Linked DNA regions of Homo sapiens: region 2 is linked to region 1. Evidence: promoter capture Hi-C in human tissues and cell types (Jung and others, 2019). All regions are on one chromosome and are shown on one strand. The core of a region is centred on a gene start or on the middle of the fragment in contact, and the rest is flanking DNA. Distances in the headings are between cores, read along the strand shown.

What was found. The method cuts DNA at HindIII sites, captures the fragments that hold promoters and counts their contacts. A contact is called where the count stands out against the background at its distance.
Region 2: a contact is called between the fragment with the promoter of TRIM72 here and the fragment with the promoter of TGFB1I1 in region 1, in 1 of the 25 tissues and cell types used here (lymphoblastoid cells).

The regions. Positions count from the first base shown.
Region 1 is chr16:31,469,986-31,473,919 of GRCh38, reverse strand. TGFB1I1 (transforming growth factor beta 1 induced transcript 1) reads right to left here and starts at 1,768. Exons shown (of 11, transcript NM_001042454.3): 1 at 1,719-1,768; 2 at 364-479; 3 at 186-238; 4 at 1-85. The coding sequence starts at 1,731. RefSeq lists an enhancer at 889-1,429. The HindIII fragment of the contact is 11,590 bases long and covers 1-3,934 here.
Region 2 is chr16:31,212,511-31,216,238 of GRCh38, reverse strand. TRIM72 (tripartite motif containing 72) reads right to left here and starts at 2,120. Exons shown (of 7, transcript NM_001008274.4): 1 at 1,942-2,120; 2 at 1,111-1,507. The coding sequence starts at 1,500. PYDC1 (pyrin domain containing 1) reads left to right here. Exons shown (of 2, transcript NM_152901.4): 2 at 82-277. RefSeq lists enhancers at 799-1,713, 1,714-2,629. The HindIII fragment of the contact is 10,428 bases long and covers 1-3,728 here.

The DNA of each region.
Region 1 (3,934 bases), core at 519-3,018:
CCCGGTACCCAAGACACCGCTGGAAGAGGAGAATGGAGGGGCCGCCGGGGCTGCAGGCTTTGGGGACCGAGGCTTGCATACCGTGCTGGGAAGCAGAGTGGGAGCCTGGGTTCAGGGGTGGGGAATCCAAGCCTCCTCACCTGAGACTCAGTTGGCCCCCATGCCCTGGTTTCCAGGCCCCTCACCTGTACAGGTGGTCCTTGTCCCCCGAGGCTCCTGAAGACTCCCCAGACCCTGTCTACAGAGCGGAGACGCACAGGTGGGATGACAGGCCTGCACTCTGCCCCACTGAGGCTGAGATCCCCATAGACCAGGCCGAGCCTGGCCCTAGTGGCTGCCCCAGTCCCCAACATCCGATCTCACCTGTGGCTGGTGGCCATAGGATGGGGGAGGGGTGAGAGGCTCCGCAGGGCGCTCTTTGGGAGCCCCTGACCTTGGCATGTGCGAGGTGGTAGTCTCCAGGTCAGAGAGCAGGGCATCTGCAGGAAGAGGCCATCAGGGAGAGAGACAAGGGTCACGGTTAGATCAGAAGATAAGGTTCCCAGTGGGCAGTACTGGAGAAGGACAGAAGCCAGTATTAAGAGAAGAGGTCACAGGGCCAGAGCCAGGCAGAGCACTGCTCGAAGGGTAGCAAGGAATATTTATGACCAGAATATCCCAGTTGCTCACGCTTGGAGCCAAGCACAAACCCAGCCTCCTGATTATTTTATTCTCCCCATCTTCTCTGATGCAGTCAAAATGGGCTCTTCACCCAAGCCAAATTTGGCTCCCCTCCAAATTGCTCCATTGGCCCAGTGCCTGGCCCTCAGCTTTCTGATTGGACGCTCTCTCTTCCATGCTGGTTAACTCCTCCCTCTACCTACACAGGCCCCGCCCAGCCTGGCCACTCCCAGGCCCCTGAGTCCCGCCCTGGGCTCCTCACTGGCGCTTCGCTGGGACCTGCCTTCTGATTGGCTGTTTATCTGCGGTACAGCGTCAGTTACCCCTACCGAGCAGCGCCCTCTACCGCCAGGGGCCGGAAGCCCCTCTCTCCCGTGGAGCGCACAGCCTTCCAGCCCCAGGCTTCGCAGGGAGGACGAGATACCTGGGTCCCCCTTCCGGACAAGACACCTCTCTCCATCCCTGCATCCCCAGATCCGGGTCTTTTGAGCCCTTTCACTTCCAGAACCCAGAAGTCCTGCCCTCAGTCTTCGTCTCTGAGCACCCGCGTGAAACCCTGAAGCCTTCGCGGGCGCCTAGGCACTCCTGAGTTACTATTCTCTTCCTTGCCTCAAGGACCTGACCCTCACTGTGCTCAGGAGCCCTTAACTCCTCCTCTCCCAAAACTCTGGTGCAGGCAGGCCCGCTTTTTTTCTCCAAAACTTGATGCCAGACTTTCCCGTGCCCTCTACTTTCCCGGTCCCCGGGCCGAGGCCCCTTTAACCCCTCCCTCCCCAGAGCCCCGCGCCCGGGCGCCCGCGGGCGCCGCACCTCCCGTTCCATCTGCCGCAGCCTGGGATGGAGGAGCACAGCGAGGGAAGAAGGGAGGGAGCGGCCGGCCCAGGAAAGGCAGGAAGGGAGAGGCAGGAAGGGGGACGTGGAGTTGGAAAGGAGGCGCGGGCAGAGGCGAAAAGCAGAAGTAAGAAGACAGGGATGGGGAGATGCGGGAGAGCGACGGCGGGGAGGCAGCTCTGGGCAGCGGTGAGGGGCCACGGACCCGGGGATCCGGCCCCACTCACCCAGGTCCTCCATGGCGGGGCGCGGGCCGGTGGCGCGGGGCGAACAGGGCGGGGGCCGTGTCCGGTGGGGGCGGGGGGCGGGGGACGTCCGGGAGCTGGAAGCCCGGCCGTGACCATGTAAGGAAGCCGGGACCCGCTGAGATGGGGATGGGGGGGCGATGAACGGGGGAACCCGAGGTGGGGGCGTGGAAAGGAGGGAGCGCCCCGGCCCACCCGAGCCCAGCCCGCCGGCCTGCCGCGGAGGCGGCCACACCCCAGCCTTGGCCTCAGCTGCAGGGAGCCCCAGGAGGCCAGAGCCAGAGAGAAGTGGCTTCTCCAGACCAAGCCCCAGAGCCGCTCCCTAGGGAGACTTACAGACACGGACTGAGGCCCCCAAACAGACACCGCTCAAAGCTAGCGCCTGAGTCCTAGACAAGAGCCTCCCTCCCACCCATGCCATTCCTGGGAGACTTGTCCCAGACGGAATTTTTGGATTGGTAGCAGGAGTGATATTCTAAGGCTCAATTAGACCTCAGGTTCGGAGACCCTCCCATCGGAGACCCTGACAGATAAATAGAGGCCCCAAGAGGCATACATACCAGACACAAAGAAATCTGAGGGACGGGGACAGACACAGTGAACCCACCCACAGACTCTACACTAGGACCTTCCCTCCAAGACTTGGTCATGGACACACGTAAACTCGAACCCGGGCGCAAGCCCCTTGCAAATTCGGGGAAAACACTCCCAGGCAACCAACCCCCAGCCAGCCTGCAAGACAAAGCCCTTCCTCAGCACTGAGGTGGCCCAGGCCTGCTCTGAAACAGCCCTTTCCCAAGTTACTGATGAACTCAGAGCAGAAAGCAAGACACAGTCTCCAGCCACAAAGTGGCAAGGCCTTCCCTGGACTGAGACCCTGAGAAACGAGGTGGAAACGAGAGGCCATAGAGGTAGTTATGGACAGACAACTGTGCTGCAGCCACTCTTCTGGACAGATCTGAGCACTGGAATGTGAGTATCAACCCAGCAGCAAATCGGAACAACCTGGGGAGCTTTTTAAAAATGCGAGACAGGCATGGTGGCTCACACCTATAATCCTAGCACTTTGGGAGGTCAAGGCGGGCAGGTCACTTGAGGTCAGGAGTTCGAGACCAGCCTGGCCAACATGACAAAACCCCATCTCTACTAAAAACACAAAATTAGCTGTGCGTGGTGGTGGGAGCCTGTAATTCCAGCTACTTGGGAGGCTGAGACAGGAGAATTGCTTGAAACCTGGAGGCAGAGGCTGCAGTGAGCTGAGATTGTGCCACTGAACTCCTGAGCAACAGAGGAGACCCTGTGTCAAGAATAAAAAAGAAAAAGAAGAAAAAATGGGCAAACGACCTGAATAGACAGTTCAAAGAAGTTATATAAATAGCCAATGATTACATGAAAAGATCCTCAACATCATTAGTCCCCAGAGAAATGCAAATCAAAACTACAATGAGATGCCACATCATACCTATTAGGATGGCAATAACAAAAAAGACAGGTAATTAGGCAAGGAGCAGTGGCTCACACCTGTAATCCTAACACTTTGGAAGGCCGAGGTGGGTGGATCCCCTGAGGTCAGGAGTTCGAGACCAGCCTGGCTAACATGGTGAAAACAGTCTCTACTAAAAACACACAAAAAAATTAGCCAGACATGGTGGTGGGCACCTGTAGTCCCAGCTACTTGGGAGGCTGAGGCGGAAGAATCCCTTGAACCTGGCAGGTGGAGGCTGCAGTGAGCTGAGATCGTGCCACTGCACTCCAGCCTGAGCAACAGAGCGAGACTCCATCTCAAATAATAATGATAATATTTTAAAGGCCAGGCTCAGTGGTTCACGCCTGTAATCCCAACACTCTGGGAGGCCGAGGCGGGCGGATCACCTGAGGTCTGGAGTTGGAGACCAGCCTGGTTAACTTGGCAAAACCCCGTCTCTACTAAAAATACAAAAATTAGCTGGGTGTGGTGGCAGGCACCTGTAATCCCAGCTACTCGGGAGGCTGAGGCAGGAGAATCACTTGAACTCGGGAGGCAGAGGTTGCAGTGAGCAGAGATTGTGCCACTGCACTCCAGCCTGGTGACAGAGTGAGATTCCGACTCAAAAAAAAAAAAAAAAAAAGCTGAAAAGAAAGAGGTAATTAGCAAGTTTTTGTGAGGATATGGAGAGATTGGAACCCTCACACATGGCTGGTTGGAATGTAAAATCGTT
Region 2 (3,728 bases), core at 871-3,370, 260 kb after region 1:
AGGCAGGACTGAGAGGCTGGGTCCCTGGGAAGTCTGGGGGCCTCGAATACCAACGAAAGGACGGTGGTCTACCCCTTCTAGGAGGCGGGTCAAGGCAAAAGGAGTAATGCAACGCCTGTGAAGCCAGCCCCACGCGCGCACCAGTCGCGTAAGACAACAGCAGTGTCTCCACCTCGGGGACCAAGGACGCCTCCGTGCCTCCAGACCCCGCCTCCTCCAGCCCCTGCACCTGTCATTTATTCTTCCACTGCCCAATAAATATTCATGGCAGACTTTACTGGGGCTGCGCGCACACGTGCCCGCCGGTAGCTATACGTGTGTGCTTTTGCCACACGGATGACACGCACCAGCCAGTGTGCGTTCGTCTCTATTTGCCTCTGTCTGGGTGTCTCTGCTGGGTACTTCGGGACGCGCACAACTGCGTGTGGGCTCCCAAGGCTTTCGGGACTTCCAGCTCCACCCAGAAAAACATCCTGGACGGGGCTCTCGGTGCCACCCTGGGCCCGCACACATAAGTGCAGATCCCGGCTGCCTAGCCCTTACAGTCTCCCTTCTGGTGAGGCCCCGCCTGGGGACCGTCAGGCCAGCCCAAGTTCCGCAGCTTCAGGGGTGCGTGGGCCTCCGCTGAGCACAAGGGGACAACCCTGCCCCGGCCGCCTGGCTCGGTCCCGAACGCCGCGCCTCCAGTCCAAAGTGGGCCAGCGCCGAGCAGGGAGCCAGCCCGAACGGCCCACCGGGTGCAGGAATGCGAGCGTGGGCCGCAGGGGCTGGTCAGTCCCTGCTCCGCCTGGCTCCGCCCGGCCCATCAGACCCGCCCTGGGGCTCCGCCCGCCCATCTCCAGTTTCCTCTAGGGACTAAGGCCGGGAAACCTACGTTTGCTCAGCGCCCTTATCGCCAGGCTCCATCCCTGCGCGGCTTTCCTCTGCCAGCCCCGCCTTAAGCTCCTCAGACCCTCTTTCCTGGCTGCTTCGCCCCGCCCCCGCCCCCCGCAACTCCAGGAGCTCGTGAGCCTCTCTAGAGACTCAGAATCCAAATCACTGCAGCGACCTCCCCATCGGCCCCGTGCCACCGAACAGCCCCTCCGACCACGATGCGCGCGGATCCCGCACCTTGAGGCGTGCGTGGGCCTCGGCGGCAGGCAGGAGGCGATGACCGCGGTGCGAGCCGAGTGAGGCGCACACTCCGCACACCAGCGCGCGGTCCTGCTCGCAGTAGATGCTCAGCGGGTCCAGGTGCTCCTCGCAGTGGCCCTGCGGCACCTGGGCCAGCCCCTCCACCAGGCGCGCCAGCTGCAGGTTGGTGCTGAGTGCCTGCGGCCGCGTGGGGGCCTGGCAGCAGGGGCAGAGAACGGTGCCATCCGCCGCCGGCTCCCCGGCCACGCGGCCTAGGCAGGCGCGGCAGAAACTGTGGCCGCACTCGGCTGTCACGGGCGCGTCGAACAGCTGCAGGCACAGCGGGCAGGACAGCTCCTGGTGCAGGAGGCCGGGCGCAGCCGACATGGCGGGCCTGGGTGGAGGAGGAGTAGGTTAGGGGGACCCCGCGGCGCCGCGCTCCCGGCCCAGCCCTGGCCCAGCCCTAGCCCAGGCCGGGCCCGCCGCCCCGCAGGGAGAAGCCCCAGCCTGTAAAGACCTCACATCCTACACTGGATGGGACTCTGACGGCCAAGGGGAAAGAGGAACTCGGTCTCAGGCCCAAAAGCAGCCTCCACTGCAATTCTCAGCTCCAACCCCAAAAATATGCCCTATCAGTCAACCCCAGTTCCTGAACACAAGCCCAGATTCTAGCCCACTGTCCTTGCCCTCGCCTTAGCCCCAGGCCTCAGCCTCTGACCTTAGTCCCGGACCCAAATTCTCCAGAGCCCCCACTCCGAGACTCCCCTCCCTCACTTTACCAAGATACCCAGACCTCCCCTCCCCCTCTCTCCAGCCCACGGGACTCACAGGTCTGGTTGGAGATCTTAGGCTGAAAGAGTCTCGAAGGAGGACCGGTCAGGGTTGAGCTTAGCTGGACTGGGGTCAGGGCTGGGTCCAAGGATCTGAGACAAGCAGCAGGCTCCAAGCAAGGACAGGGACTCACAGGGGCAGCTGGCAGTGGACACCACGCGTGATGGGCACACAGTGCTCAGCGGAAGACCCTCCCAGACTGAGCCATGGCCCCAGGACTATATTTAGCTGCCCTGCCCAATCCCTCCCATCACTTCCGGAAACCGTTCTAAAAGTGAGGGCTGAGTAGTCCCTGGGCACACATCACATGACAGGGCCACCTGTCTTGGCCCATCCACTGTTCTCTCCCCGGCCTGCCTGGAGTCAGAGCTCAGAGCCAGCGGGGAGCCAGGGCCTTTCACACCACAGAAAAGACAGAAAATTGAAGGGGGTCTGCCCTTTCTCCCCCCACTCCCACCTCCACACTCTCCAGCTCCTTCCTCCTTGCTGGCAGCCCCTCCCCAGCCTGTCACCCACTCATTCCCCAAGTTTATGGCTGACCAAGGTCACCCTGGCAGGATTACCCCACCTGCAGGAGGGCAGGACCTCACCCCACCCTGAAATGTTTTCTTCCTCCAGAGCTGAGGGGAGGGTCTTTTCCACTTTGGTCTCTCTAGTACACCCAGGACAAGCCTGGGACAAAGTAGGCCTCTCTAAATGCTTGGAGAATGAATGATAGAGAGACATTGAACAAATGAATGAACTGAATCCAGAGCCTGCAGCCCAGAACTCAATTCTGCCCTGGTTCCTGTATGTGTATCTTTCAAATCTCAGCTGAAATTTCATTTAAGTGGCGCTGGGATAACTGGCTAGCCTTATGCAAGAGAATGAAACTGGACCCCTACCTTTCACCATATAAAAAAAATTAACTCAAGATGGGTTAAAGATTTAAATGTAAGACTTCAAACCATAAAAATCATAGAAGAAACCGCAGGAGAAATACTATTCTGGATATCAGCCTTGGTAAAGAATTCTTGACTAAGTCCTCAAAAGCAACAAAAACAAAAATTGTTAAGTGGGACCTCATTAAACTAAAGAGCTTCTGCACAGCAAAAGCAAAAGCAACTATCAACAGACAGACAACTGAAGAATGGAAGAAAGGCCAGGCGCGGTGGCTCACGCCTGTAATCCCAGCACTCTTGGGAGGCCAAGGCGGGTGGATCATGAGGTCAGGAGATCGAGACCACAGTGAAACCCCGTCTCTACTAAAAATACAAAAAATTAGCCGGGCGCAGTGGCGGGCACCTGTAATCCCAGCTACTCAGGAGGCTGAGGCAGGAGAATGGTGTGAACCCGGGAGACGGAGCTTGCAGTGAGCCGAGATCGCGCCACTGCACTCCAGCCTGGGGTACAGAGTGAGACTCCGTCTCAAAAAAAAAGAATGGAAGAAAATATTCACAAACTATGCATCCAACAAAGATCTACTATCCAGAATATATAAAGAAACTAAACATTTCAACAAGCAGAAAACAACCCCATTAAAAAGTTGGCAAGGGCCAGGCACAATGGCTCACACCTGTAATCCCAGCACTTTGGGGGGCCCAGGCGGGTGGATCACTTGAGGTCAGGAGTTTGAGACCAGCCTGGCCAACATGGTTAAACTTCGTCTCTATGAAACATACAAAACTCAGCCGGGTGTGGTGGCAGGTACCTGTAATCCCAGCTACTTGGGAGGCTGAGGCAGGAGAATCGCTTGAACCCGGGAGGCAGAGGTTGCAGTGAACCGAGATCGCACCACTGGACTC